3 separate regions of the Homo sapiens genome follow, and regions 1 and 2 are each linked to region 3. Evidence: promoter capture Hi-C in 16 types of primary human blood cells and fetal thymus (Javierre and others, 2016). All regions are on one chromosome and are shown on one strand. The core of a region is centred on a gene start or on the middle of the fragment in contact, and the rest is flanking DNA. Distances in the headings are between cores, read along the strand shown.

What was found. The method cuts DNA at HindIII sites, captures the fragments that hold promoters and counts their contacts. A CHiCAGO score of 5 or more calls a contact.
Region 1: a contact is called between a fragment that was not itself captured here and the fragment with the promoter of TAS1R1 in region 3, in 4 of 17 cell types (fetal thymus, neutrophils, erythroblasts and 1 more). The highest score is 5.4, in fetal thymus.
Region 2: a contact is called between a fragment that was not itself captured here and the fragment with the promoter of TAS1R1 in region 3, in 1 of 17 cell types (neutrophils). The highest score is 7.6, in neutrophils.

Annotation. Positions count from the first base shown.
Region 1 is chr1:6,674,325-6,678,002 of GRCh38, reverse strand. All of the region lies in intron 3 of DNAJC11 (DnaJ heat shock protein family (Hsp40) member C11), which reads left to right. Among named protein-coding and RNA genes, the nearest start is that of DNAJC11, 26 kb to the left of the region's middle. The HindIII fragment of the contact is 706 bases long and covers 2,025-2,730 here.
Region 2 is chr1:6,652,508-6,656,197 of GRCh38, reverse strand. DNAJC11 (DnaJ heat shock protein family (Hsp40) member C11) reads left to right here. Exons shown (of 16, transcript NM_018198.4): 5 at 2,159-2,287; 6 at 3,247-3,369. Among named protein-coding and RNA genes, the nearest start is that of THAP3, 29 kb to the right of the region's middle. The HindIII fragment of the contact is 2,975 bases long and covers 57-3,031 here.
Region 3 is chr1:6,553,242-6,557,085 of GRCh38, reverse strand. TAS1R1 (taste 1 receptor member 1) reads right to left here and starts at 1,779. Exons shown (of 6, transcript NM_138697.4): 1 at 1,522-1,779. The coding sequence starts at 1,712. NOL9 (nucleolar protein 9) reads left to right here and starts at 2,573. Exons shown (of 12, transcript NM_024654.5): 1 at 2,573-2,979. The coding sequence starts at 2,584. RefSeq lists a silencer at 2,608-2,867. The HindIII fragment of the contact is 19,423 bases long and covers 1-2,284 here.

The sequences.
Region 1 (3,678 bases), core at 1,128-3,627, 120 kb before region 3:
CTCTCTCCACCTCAGTTCTGAATAATTGCTGTGAGGAAATATTTCAGATGGGAGTATGTTATGCACGTGAGCAAAATGGAAGCAGAGTTGCTGGGGTTGCATTGCCTGTAATGACCCTTTCAATTCTCATGTATTATAATATTCAAGCTTTGTCAAATGTGATGAGTGAAACAAAATATATAGCAAATGTGTCGCCCTGGGCAGCCATGCTGTGGGAGAGCAGTCACTAAAATCCAGACAATTTGTTTGCTTTCACACTGCCACTGACTAGCAGTAGAGTCTTGGGCAAGTCATTGGGCTACTAGTGCTTCCATGTTACTATCTGAAAAATGAATATGAAGATTAGTTGTGAAACCCTTAAGTTGCTACAGGGATATATAGGTATCATTAAAGAAACTTTGTTCTGACCCAGGCAAAGTGGCTCACACCTGTAATCCTAACACTCTGGGGAGCCAGGCTGGGAGGATCACATGAGGCCAGGAGTTCGAGACCAGCCTGAGAAACATAGCAAGACCCTGTCTCTACAAAACATTTTTTTAAAAATTAGTCGGGCTTGGTGGCGCACACCTGTATTCCCAGCTATTCAGGAGGCTGAGATGGGAGAATCACTTGAGCACAGGAGGTTGAGGCTGCAGTGAGCTATGATCACGCCACTACACTCTAACGTGGGCAACAGAGCAAGACCCTGTCTCACAAAAAAAAGAAAGAAACTTGGTTCTGATGCCCAATAAATTTTGCTAGTCTGTTTAATAACATTGAATTGACCCTCGTTGAGTTATATTTTCACCATCATGTAAGATTACCCTTGAAGTTCCTTCGTTTTTTTTGTTTTTTTTTTTTTTTTGAGACCAAGTTTTGCTCTTGTTGCCCAGGCTGGAGTGCAGTGGCGCAATCTTGGCTCACTGCAACAAGTGATTCTCCTGCCTCAGCCTTCCTGAGTAGCTGGGATTACAAGGCATGCGCCACTACACCCAGCTAATTTTGTATTTGTAGTAGAGACAGGGTTTCTCCATGTTGGTCAGGCTGGTCTCGAACTCCTGACCTCAGACGATCCACCCACCTCGGCCTCCCAAAGTGCTGGGATTACAGGCATGAGCCACCACACCTGGCCAAAGTTCATTCAATGTTTAGTCTCAAGCATGCGTGCCTGTCTCTTCCAGTTCTGGCATCAAAGCCTTGTAAAGGCCTTCAGATGAGGAGTGGAAGAAAAGCAAAAGAGGATCCTATTTCCTTTCCTGCCTTTCCACTACTGCTTCATATTGGTGGCTCATGGGCCATATTCCACTAATAGCCTTTTTTGGTGTGTGTGTGTGTTTGTGAGAGAGAGTGCGCGCGTGCTCTGTCGCCCAGGCTGCAGTGTGTTGGTGCCATCATGGCTCACTGCACCCTCGACCTCCCAGGCTCAAGTGAGTCTCCTACCTCAGCCTCCCAAGTAGCTGCGACTACAGGCACACACCACCATGCCTAGCTAATTTTTAAATTTTTTGTAGAGATGGGGTCTTTCTATGTTGCCCAGGCTGGTCTCAAACTCCTAGCCTGAAGCTACCCTCCCCCCTCAGCCTCCCAAAGCGCCGGGATTACAGGTGTGAGCCACCGCACCCAGCCTGTTGCCATTTTTTGATTGCCTCACACAGTGAATTCTAGTTGCTAACATTTCAACCCTGGGAGGTTCTGCATGATAATTCAGTCTTCTGTCTTTTCTTGAAACATCTGAAGATCTGGTAACAGTGGATCTGAGGAGCCCTTGCCCTTCAGATGGGGCTGGGCTGTCCAATTTGTCCCAGTCCCCACCACTCCCCCTTGCGTTATGTCTGGCTCTTCTCATCTGCATGTCCTCCTGGCTCCAGTGGGCAGTTGGTATTTGGCCTCTGGCTTGATGGGAATAGCAGTGCTTCCTGTCACATTGGTTCATTGCAGCTAGGTATTAAGCCAAATAACTTAGCATTTTCTCATCCAAAAAGGAAAGTAGAATTCTGTTGTATTTATTCAATTTCCCCGTCACTCTTTATACACTCCTTAAAGCTTCTTTGTTTTTTTAAGATGTGGGTTGGCTACAATTTTTCAAGTCAGCAATTGGAGTCACTGAAAAGCTGTAGGACCCCATTACATATTCCCTCTTCAAAGACTAGGTTTTTAGTCCCCAGCAGCATTATCCCAATCAGTGGAGCACTGGGGTCTGCTGGTAGAATATTGTATGGCTTCCTCTCATCAGACCAGATTATCTTCCCATTAGAAACAAAGCAAATCCACACGCAAAATGGTGGTTATACAAATATATAGGGCTGGGTGCAGTGGCTCACACCTGTAATTCCAGCAGTTTCAAAGGCTGACACAGGAGAATCACTTGAGCTCAGGAGTTCGAGACCAGCTGGAGCAACACAGTGAGATCGCATCTCTACAAGCGATAAAAAATGAAAAAATTAACCAGGCATGGTGGTGAGTGCCTGTAATCCTACTTCTTGGGAGGCTGAGGTGGGAGGATCGCTTGAGCCTAAGGAGGTCGAGGTTTCAGTGAGCCATGATCACACCACTGCACTCCAGCCTGAGTGACAGTGAGACTGTGTCTCAAAAAATAAAAAATGAAATAAATAAATGAAAATAAAAATAAGTGCACAGTCGTGGGTGGCAAGTGGTTAAACATTATTTTCGTATTTTTTTAGTAAACTAAGGAAGTCAGGTTCTCATAGATCAGAATTGGCTTTTTTTTTTTTTTCATGTGGATACTAAGCTTTTGCTGCAAGATAAAAATGCTTTCAAAGAAAACTAAATGAAGACACCTCCCCAGATATTTACTCGGATATGTATTAGTGCTTAACATCCAATAGGAAAATTGAGCCCATTATTCATAATACACAGAAAGTCTCATTGAACTCAAGCACATTCTATGAAGCTGGCATCAACATTCCTTCAAGGAATTCCTACAGCTGGATGGATTGTTCCATATGAGGATTCTCTCACTGCAATAATAGCTTTCACTCCAGGGAGGAAGCTGTATTCCCTTCATGCTGTTGCTGGTATTTTTAGACTGTTAAACTCTTCAGTTGCTGAAGGGTATCCATTTACCACATATTTATTAGGCTACCATATGGGTAGTCAGTGAAGGGTGAAGGGCATTGACTGTTGGTATCCTGAGTGTCTGAGACGCCTTTAATCCAAAGATCTCAAAGTACTCCACCAACTAGAAATCACTCCCCAACCCTGGAGCTTCTTTAGAATGTACAAAATACTGGCCCAGTTGTCAGTCATTAGGTAAATTTTCAGACTTTTTTTTTTTTGAGACAGAGTCTCACTTTGTCACCCAGGCTAGAGTGTAGTGGCACGATCGTGGCTTACTGCAGTCTCGATCTCCCAGCTCAGGCCATCCTCCCACCTCAGCCTCTCAAGTAGCTGAGACTACAGGCATGCATCACCACGCCCTGCTAATTTTTTTATTTTTATTTTTTGAGACGGAGTCTTGCTCTGTTGCCCAGGCTGAGTGTAGTGGCGTGATCTTGGCTCACTGCAACCTCTGCTTCCGGGGTTCAAGTGATTCTCCTGCCTCAGCCTCCCGAGTAGCTGGAATTACAGGTGCGCACCACTATGCCTGGCTAATTTTTGTATTTTTGGTAGAGACAGAGTTTCACCATGTTGGCCAAGCTGGTCTCGAACTCCTGACCTCAGATGATCCTCCTGCCTTGG
Region 2 (3,690 bases), core at 295-2,794, 99 kb before region 3:
GTATGGTTTTTTTCCCCCTAAAAAGATCAGCTTCAGATTATTTTTCATTACAAGCTTTATTTTCAGTGATTGTAATTTTTTTTTTTTTTTTTTTTTTAGACGGAGTCTTGTTCTGTTGCCCAGGCTGGAGTGCAGTGGCACAATCTTGGCTCACTGCAACCTCTGCCTCACAAGTTGAAGCAATTCTCCTGCCTCAGCCTCCTGAGGAGCTGGGATTATAGGTGCGCACCACCACGCCCGGCTAATTTTTGTATTTTTAGTAGAGATGGGGTTTCACCATGTTGGTCATGTTGGTCTCAAACTCCTGACTTCGTGAGCCGCCTGCCTCGGCCTCCCAAAGTGCTGGGATTACAGGCATGAGCCACCACACCCGGCCTGTTCTTGTTTTTGAGACAGAGTCTTGCTCTGTCACCCATGCTGGAGTGCAGTGGCGCAATCTTGGCTCACTGAAACCTCCACCTTTCAGGTTCAAGCAGTTCTCCTGCCTCAGCCTCTAGAGTAGCTGGGACGTGTACCTGGCTAATTTTTGTATTTTTAGTAGCAACAGGGTTTCTACCACGTTGGCCAGGCTGGTCTCGAACTCCTGACCTCAGGTGATCCCACTCCCTCAGCCTCCCAAAGTGTTGGGATTACGGGTATTAGCCACCACACCTGGCCACAGATTGTTCATATACTGCCATGCAGTTTTGTTGATTATTCAGAATCATCATCATGACAGAGATGTGTTCATGCTGTTACTCTGTGAATATAAAAAATTTGTAAATTTTGGCAACTACAACTTCATTTTCCATGGGTAGAATACCACAGCTTGTTTTGACACAATTATGCATTATGCGTATCACTACAACTAATTCTAAGGATGTTTCTAGTCCATGGGTTTCTTGATTTAATAAGAAAATTTTTTACCATAACACTATACTGCCTCCAAGTTGGTATTTGAATATCACCGCAAAAACAAACACGTTTACCTTTAATGTGGAACTTTTTGATTGAGTTTATAGTAGCATTCATAATGTCAGGTGTTTCACCCTCAACAGAAATCAAGTAATTATTAGGGTTAATGCATTTTCAGATTGAAGCATCTGATAGAAAGCTAGCACCAGCTGGGCGCGGTGGCTCACACCTGTAATCTCAGCACTTTGGGAGGCCGAGGCGAGTGGATCATGAGGTCAAGAGATCGAGACCATCCTGGTCAACATGGTGAAACCCTGTCTCTACTAAAAATACAAAAATTAACTGGGCATGGTGGCGTGCGCCTGTAGTCCCAGCTACTCGGGAGACTAAGGCAGGAGAATCGCTTGAACCCAGGAGGCGGAGGTTGCAGTGAGCCAAGATCGTGCCACTGCACTGCACTGGACTAATGGCTAATGTTGCCTGGTGACAGAGCGAGACTCCATCTCAAAAAAAAAAAAAAAAGAAAAGCTAGCAAAAAAACATTGTTTCAATGGGCTGCAAAAAGTTTAGTTAAAAAAATGTGTGTGGCCATGGTTTTATATACTGGATTAAGATAATGTCCGTTTTTAAAGTTGTGACTATCAAAGAATAATAAACATTGATTTTCTGAGTAACAAGCATTTTTATCAGCAAAATTTTAGCTTAGAATTCCTTGAGCAAATACAGTGTTCTGTTTCTCAAACTTAATTCTCATTAATTTGAGAAGGTGGATTAATTTTAAAGTCTCCCATTTGTTCATAATTTGTGCTGCTTTATCTTTGAAGGTATTTTTATTTAAAGAGTTTTAGGGTAGTTTTGTGGTATAAGGTTGTTTACCAAAAAATGTTTAATCCATGTAGCTCATTTCTAGGTGGTTTTGTGCATTCTTGGGTCCTGTTTGGTCTCTGAAAATCAAACTGTCTAGCTCTTACTCCTTTGACTAACACTTTTGTCTTTGGCGTGTCATTGCTCTGCAGACATGCGGACCGGCTCTCCTGGTCAAATGATGTTTTCTAGCTCTGGACGTCTGTGGTGCTCTGCAGTTTGGTTCGGACTGTGACATTCATGCTTTGTGGGCTTCCTGGTGGAGTGTCCTACCTAAACCCAGTGAACCCTGAAGTCAAATGACTTGTTCAATTAAAGCGAGCTGGCTGTTGAAGTGTAGCATTGTCTTTCATTCCACAAATACCACCCGTTCTGCTGACGGCTTGTTTTTCTGCCCCAGGGAACGATCAGCGTTGGAGTAGATGCCACCGACCTTTTTGATCGCTATGATGAGGAGTATGAAGATGTGTCCGGCAGTAGCTTTCCGCAGATTGAAATTAATAAAATGCACATATCCCAGTCCATTGAGGTAAAGCACACAACCACCTCTCCGAGTACAGCAAGGGCTCGAGTTAATGAGGCACAGCACACCAAGCAGCTGGAATGAGAGTCTGCCCAGGGTTTTTCTCATCTTTATTTATGAAAGGATGCAATTAGCCACTTAAAAAAGAAAGCGCTTCATTCCCAGCCGTGTGTTACCGCTGTGCTGGCATGTGAGCCAGCAGGAGTGTGGGCTGGGGCACTTGGCTCCCAAGGTCTTGGGCCTTTCCAGCAGAGGGTGTTAATGGTCTGGGAGAAGTAGAGGCCCAAGGTCATGGGGTTCTGGGAGAGAAAGCAGACCTCCATGGATCATTCTAACAACCAGTTTTAGTTTTAAGGCAAATTCTGCTAGGTGCCGCAAGGCTATAGCAGCTCTCATCCTGAGCCCTGGGCACGCGAAAATGTCACCATTCTGCCCACTATTTGGATGTGACGAGGTCAGGTCATTCTCCTGAGCGTTTATAGTAGGTCTTTGTCTCCTCAGCTCATTAATTTATTCTCCATTGCATCAGCCAACAACGTGGAGTCCTAACTTGGGGAAATTTGCCCCCTCTTGGAGCTCCCTGAGTCAGTTGATACAGAATACAGCCATGGGAAGGTCTTCAGTCCCCCTGGAACCCTGATGGCAAACCACAGAGGGAAGGCACACAGTGAAGTCACTGTGCTATCTGATACCATTGGGACATGCAGCCCCATGTTTCCCCTGGTGTTGTGAAATGTGCCCATTAAAGCTTTTGCAAAGCATATTACCCTCGTGGTCACATGCAGACCAAATAACAAAGCGGAAGAAAAGTGAAGCTGTTGCGGCAGTTCTGCATCCATGTGTGCTTCTGAACAGAGGAATCGTCTGCACCTTTGGCCTTGGGCTCACAGTGCGTTCTTTAGGCTGCTGCCATTGGCACTTCCTGTTGTTTTGATTCATTCATTACCAGCAAATACCATTTTTAGGCACCCTTGACAGCGACAGACACAGCCATCCTCTCTGGAAGCCTCTCAACCCAGAATGGAAATGGAGGAGGTTCCATTAACTTTGCGCTCAGACGAGTAACTTCGGCAAAGGGATGGGGAGAGGTAAGAATGTCTATTGGCTGAGTTGTGTTGTCTGTGCAAAGCCTTATTTCTGAACATTTACACTCTCAAAGCTCACCCTCAAACTCACCCTGGGGGCCCCGTTGTTGTGTAAGAACGGTACCAAGTGTCAAGCTTCCATAAGTTGACTGGTCCTAAAAGAAAAATAGGTCTCATGAGCCTGGCCAACATGGTGAAACCCCGTCTCTACTAAAAATACAAAACTTAGCTGGGCATGGTGGCACCTGCCTGTAATCCCAGCTACTTGGGAGGCTGAGGCAGGAGAATCACGAGAATCACATGAACCCAGGAGGCAGAGGTTGC
Region 3 (3,844 bases), core at 530-3,029:
CATTCTTGGGCCTCTGGGTCTGTGACTTCCACAGTCTGCAAGCAACTGTCTTCGTCTTTTTTTTTTTTTTTTTTTTTGAGATGGAGCCTCGCTCTGTCGCCCGGGTTGGAATGCAATGGTGTGATCTTGGCTCACTGCAACCTCCACCTCCGGGTTCATGCGATTCTCCTGCCTCAGGCTCCTGAGTAGCTGGGATTACAGGTGCACACCACCACACCCGGCTAATGTGTTGTATTTTATGTAGAGACAGGGTTTCACTATGTTGGCCAGACTGATCTTGAACTCCTGACCTCGTGATCCGCCTGTCTCAGCCTCCCAAAGTGCTGGGATTACAGGCGTGAGCCACTGTGCTCGGCTGCAACTGTCTTCTTTAAAAGAAAAGCAGGCCGGGCGCGGTGGCTCAAGCCTATAATCCTAGCACTTTGGGAGGCCGAGGTGGGCGGATCACCTGAGGTCGGGAGTTCGAGACCAGCCTGACCAACATGGTGAAACCCCTGTCTCTACGAAAAATACAAAAATTAGCTGGGTATGGTGACACATGCCTATAATTCCAGCTACTCCCGAGGCTAAGGCATGAGAATCACTTGAGCCCAGGAGGAGGAGGTTGCAGTGAGTCAAGATTATGCCACTGCACTCCAGCCTGGATGACAGACTGAGTCTCCATCTCAAAAAAATATAGATAGATAGATAGATAGATAGAAATAAAAGAAAAGCAGTAGTTTCCCTCTACCTAGATTGTTGACTTCATGATGGCACCAACCTAATTTATATTTGTCAAGCTCCTAAAGCATCTAATGGGATGTGTCTTCCCTTCCCACCCCATGAAGAACCATGGAGAATCCTACTTGTCATCTGGGACTCTAGGGAACTTTGAACATGGGTAGGAGTGGAGAGAAGATAGAAGAGGGAAAAAGCGGCTGGGCGCGGTGGCTCACGCCTGTAATCCCAGCACTTTGGGAGGCCGAGGTGGGCAGATCACGAGGTCAGGAGATCGAGACCATTCTGGCTAACACGGTGAAACCCCGTCTCTACTAAAAATACAAAACATTAGCTGGGCGCAGTGGCGGGTGCCTGTAGTCCCAGCTACTCGGGAGGCTGAGGCAGGAGAATGGCGTGAACCCGGAAGGCGGAGCTTGCAGTGAGCTGAGATCGCGCCACTGCAGTCCCACCTGGGTGAAAGAGCGAGACTCCGTCTCAAAAAAAAAAAAAAAAAAAAAAAGAAGAGGGAAAAAGCTGCCCTTGCTTAGGCCTGGCCACCTAGGTATGGTACAAAGCCAAGAACCAATTTCAATGAAGTTACAATACAACACATTCTAACAGCAAGGGTGAAATAATTGGAAACTGGCCGAAGTGTCTAGGAAGGTCTAGCCAGCACTTAGGTGGCAAGTGGATTGATGAACAAGGCCTGGGGACAGTTCAAGGGGCAAAGGCAGAGGCAAGGTCCTGTTTGGAGGATGGCAGCCAGAGGGGCCCTATAGCCAGGGGTCCCACTAAGTGTGGCTCTGCTGGCCCCTCACTCACCTGTCACACAGGGTCACCTCGGGTCTGTGCCTCACCTGCAGACAGCCAGAATGGAGAGGGAACAGGCCTGCCAGGAGGTAATCTCCGGGGAGGGTGAAGTCAGGAGAAGACTCCGTGCTATGGCAGGCAAAGGCCCAGCAGCAGGAAATGAGAAGCTGCAGGCCGACCAGGCGAGCCGTGCAGAGCAGCATGCTGGCCAGATGCCCGCGCCTGGCATGGCCAAGGAGTGGCCTCTAAGGAGGCCAGTTGCTTAAATAGAAGGCAGCTGCCGGATGCTTCCTAACTTCAGGCCCCCAAAAGGGGTGGGACTGGAGCCCAGTGGCTGAAGCAGGACTGTTTGCCTTGACATTCCGGGCCTGCGGTCCCACTCAGGAACTGGGCAGGACGAAGGCACAGATGCAAACCAGGTGGCACCCAGTGACCCTTCCTCTGGACGGTTGTGGGTTCTGTCCACGCTCTGTGACTTCACCTGGCTTAGAAAAGGAGCTCTGGCATTTTGGGGCGAGGTGGGAGGCTGGAACACAATTTCTCCGGGTGTTGCGAGGTTTCAGAACTTTTTACCTGGGCCTCAGTTTACTAAATGAGACACAGCTTTGAGTCGACACCCCCCTGCCCCAGTCTCCAGTTTTCTGACATTAAGATTCTGAGCAAATTGTCATATACTTTCGCCTTGTTACCCAGGGTTGCTCACTTCGAAACAAATGCATGCAAACCGAAGGTATGCAAATAGACATGTTTTGTTTAAACTGCCAATCCTAAAGCTTTTTCTGCAGGAGAAAAAAAATATCCCGGTGTTTTTCCGGAGAGGTGGCCCATGGCTGGTCGCGAGGTTTCTGGCTTTCTCTCTCCGGCCGGCTGGGGTAGGGAATTTGCGTAACGTAAATGGAGTCCTCCGTGGAGCCCCTCGACCAGATCGGCTGGAACCTCCTAGTGTGCTTCCGGAGGTTGCCGGCAGAGGGCGCCGGCGGCTCGGAGGCCCCTCTTTTCGGCAGCTGGGAGGGCAGCGGGGCGGACCGACGGGATCTCGCGAGATTCTCGCGCGGTAGGCCCTGAGGACCCAGCATGGCGGACTCGGGACTGCTGCTAAAGCGGGGTTCCTGCCGTTCCACTTGGCTGCGGGTCCGCAAGGCCCGGCCCCAGCTCATCCTCAGCCGCCGGCCCCGCCGCCGGCTCGGGAGCCTGCGCTGGTGCGGTCGGCGGCGCCTACGGTGGCGGTTACTGCAAGCCCAGGCGTCCGGCGTGGACTGGAGGGAGGGAGCCCGCCAGGTGTCGCGCGCGGCGGCGGCCCGGAGACCCAACACCGCGACCCCCAGCCCGATCCCTAGCCCGACCCCGGCCTCCGAACCCGAGTCCGAACCCGAACTCGAATCCGCCTCGAGTTGCCACCGGCCTCTCCTCATCCCACCGGTGCGGCCCGTGGGCCCCGGCCGCGCGTTGCTGCTGCTGCCGGTCGAGCAGGTAGGTGGGGGGCGCCGGTAGTAGTCCCCGAGGGCAGGGAGGGCTGGAGAGGCAGCCCCGGGAGAGCTGCAGGGTAGGAGAGGACCGTGGTCCCCCGGGCCTGTTCTCTGGCTGCCAGTCGGATTCAAGTCCATCCTCTTGATGGTTGGTGGCAACTAGGCTCCCCTGAGCAGCAGGGTAACAGGTACCCTGCTAAGGGGTCCCTAGGCCTTACGAGCTAAAGGGACTTTATTTTGTTTTGTTTTCTTTCTTTCTTTTTCTTTTTGAGACAGAGTCTCACTCTGTCCCCCAGGCTGGAGTGCAGTGGCACAATCTCGGCTCACTGCAACCTCCGCATCCCGGGTTGAAGCGATTCCCCTGCCTCAGCCTCCGGAGTAGTTGGGACTACAGGCGCGTGCCACCTCGCCCGGCTATATTTTTTGTATTTTTAGTAGAAACGGGGTTTCGCCATGTTAGCCAGGATAGTCTCGATCTCCTGACCTTGTGATCCACCCGCCTCGGCCTCTCAAAGTGCTGGGATTACAGGTGTGAACCACCGCACCTGGAACTCTGAAAGGGATTTTAATAGTTAAAAAAAAAAAAGGTTGCAATTACTGAGAGCTCAGAAATTCCAGGATTTAAGGGTTCCAAAAGTGTTTTAGGCTTTGAACCCATTTAAACATCCAGCTCTCTTACGGAGTAGTTGTCCCTCTCTCTAAGTGTTTACAGACGAGGAGACTGAGGTTGGGTAACTTACACAGTAGAGGGAGAGCTAGGAGTCGAACTCAGGCAGCCTGATTCTTAACGTGGATGCCATTCCTGGAGATTCCCTGTCTAATGCAGGAGGGAAGGCAAAACCCAGGAAGTTCTGGAAGAGACTTGGCAA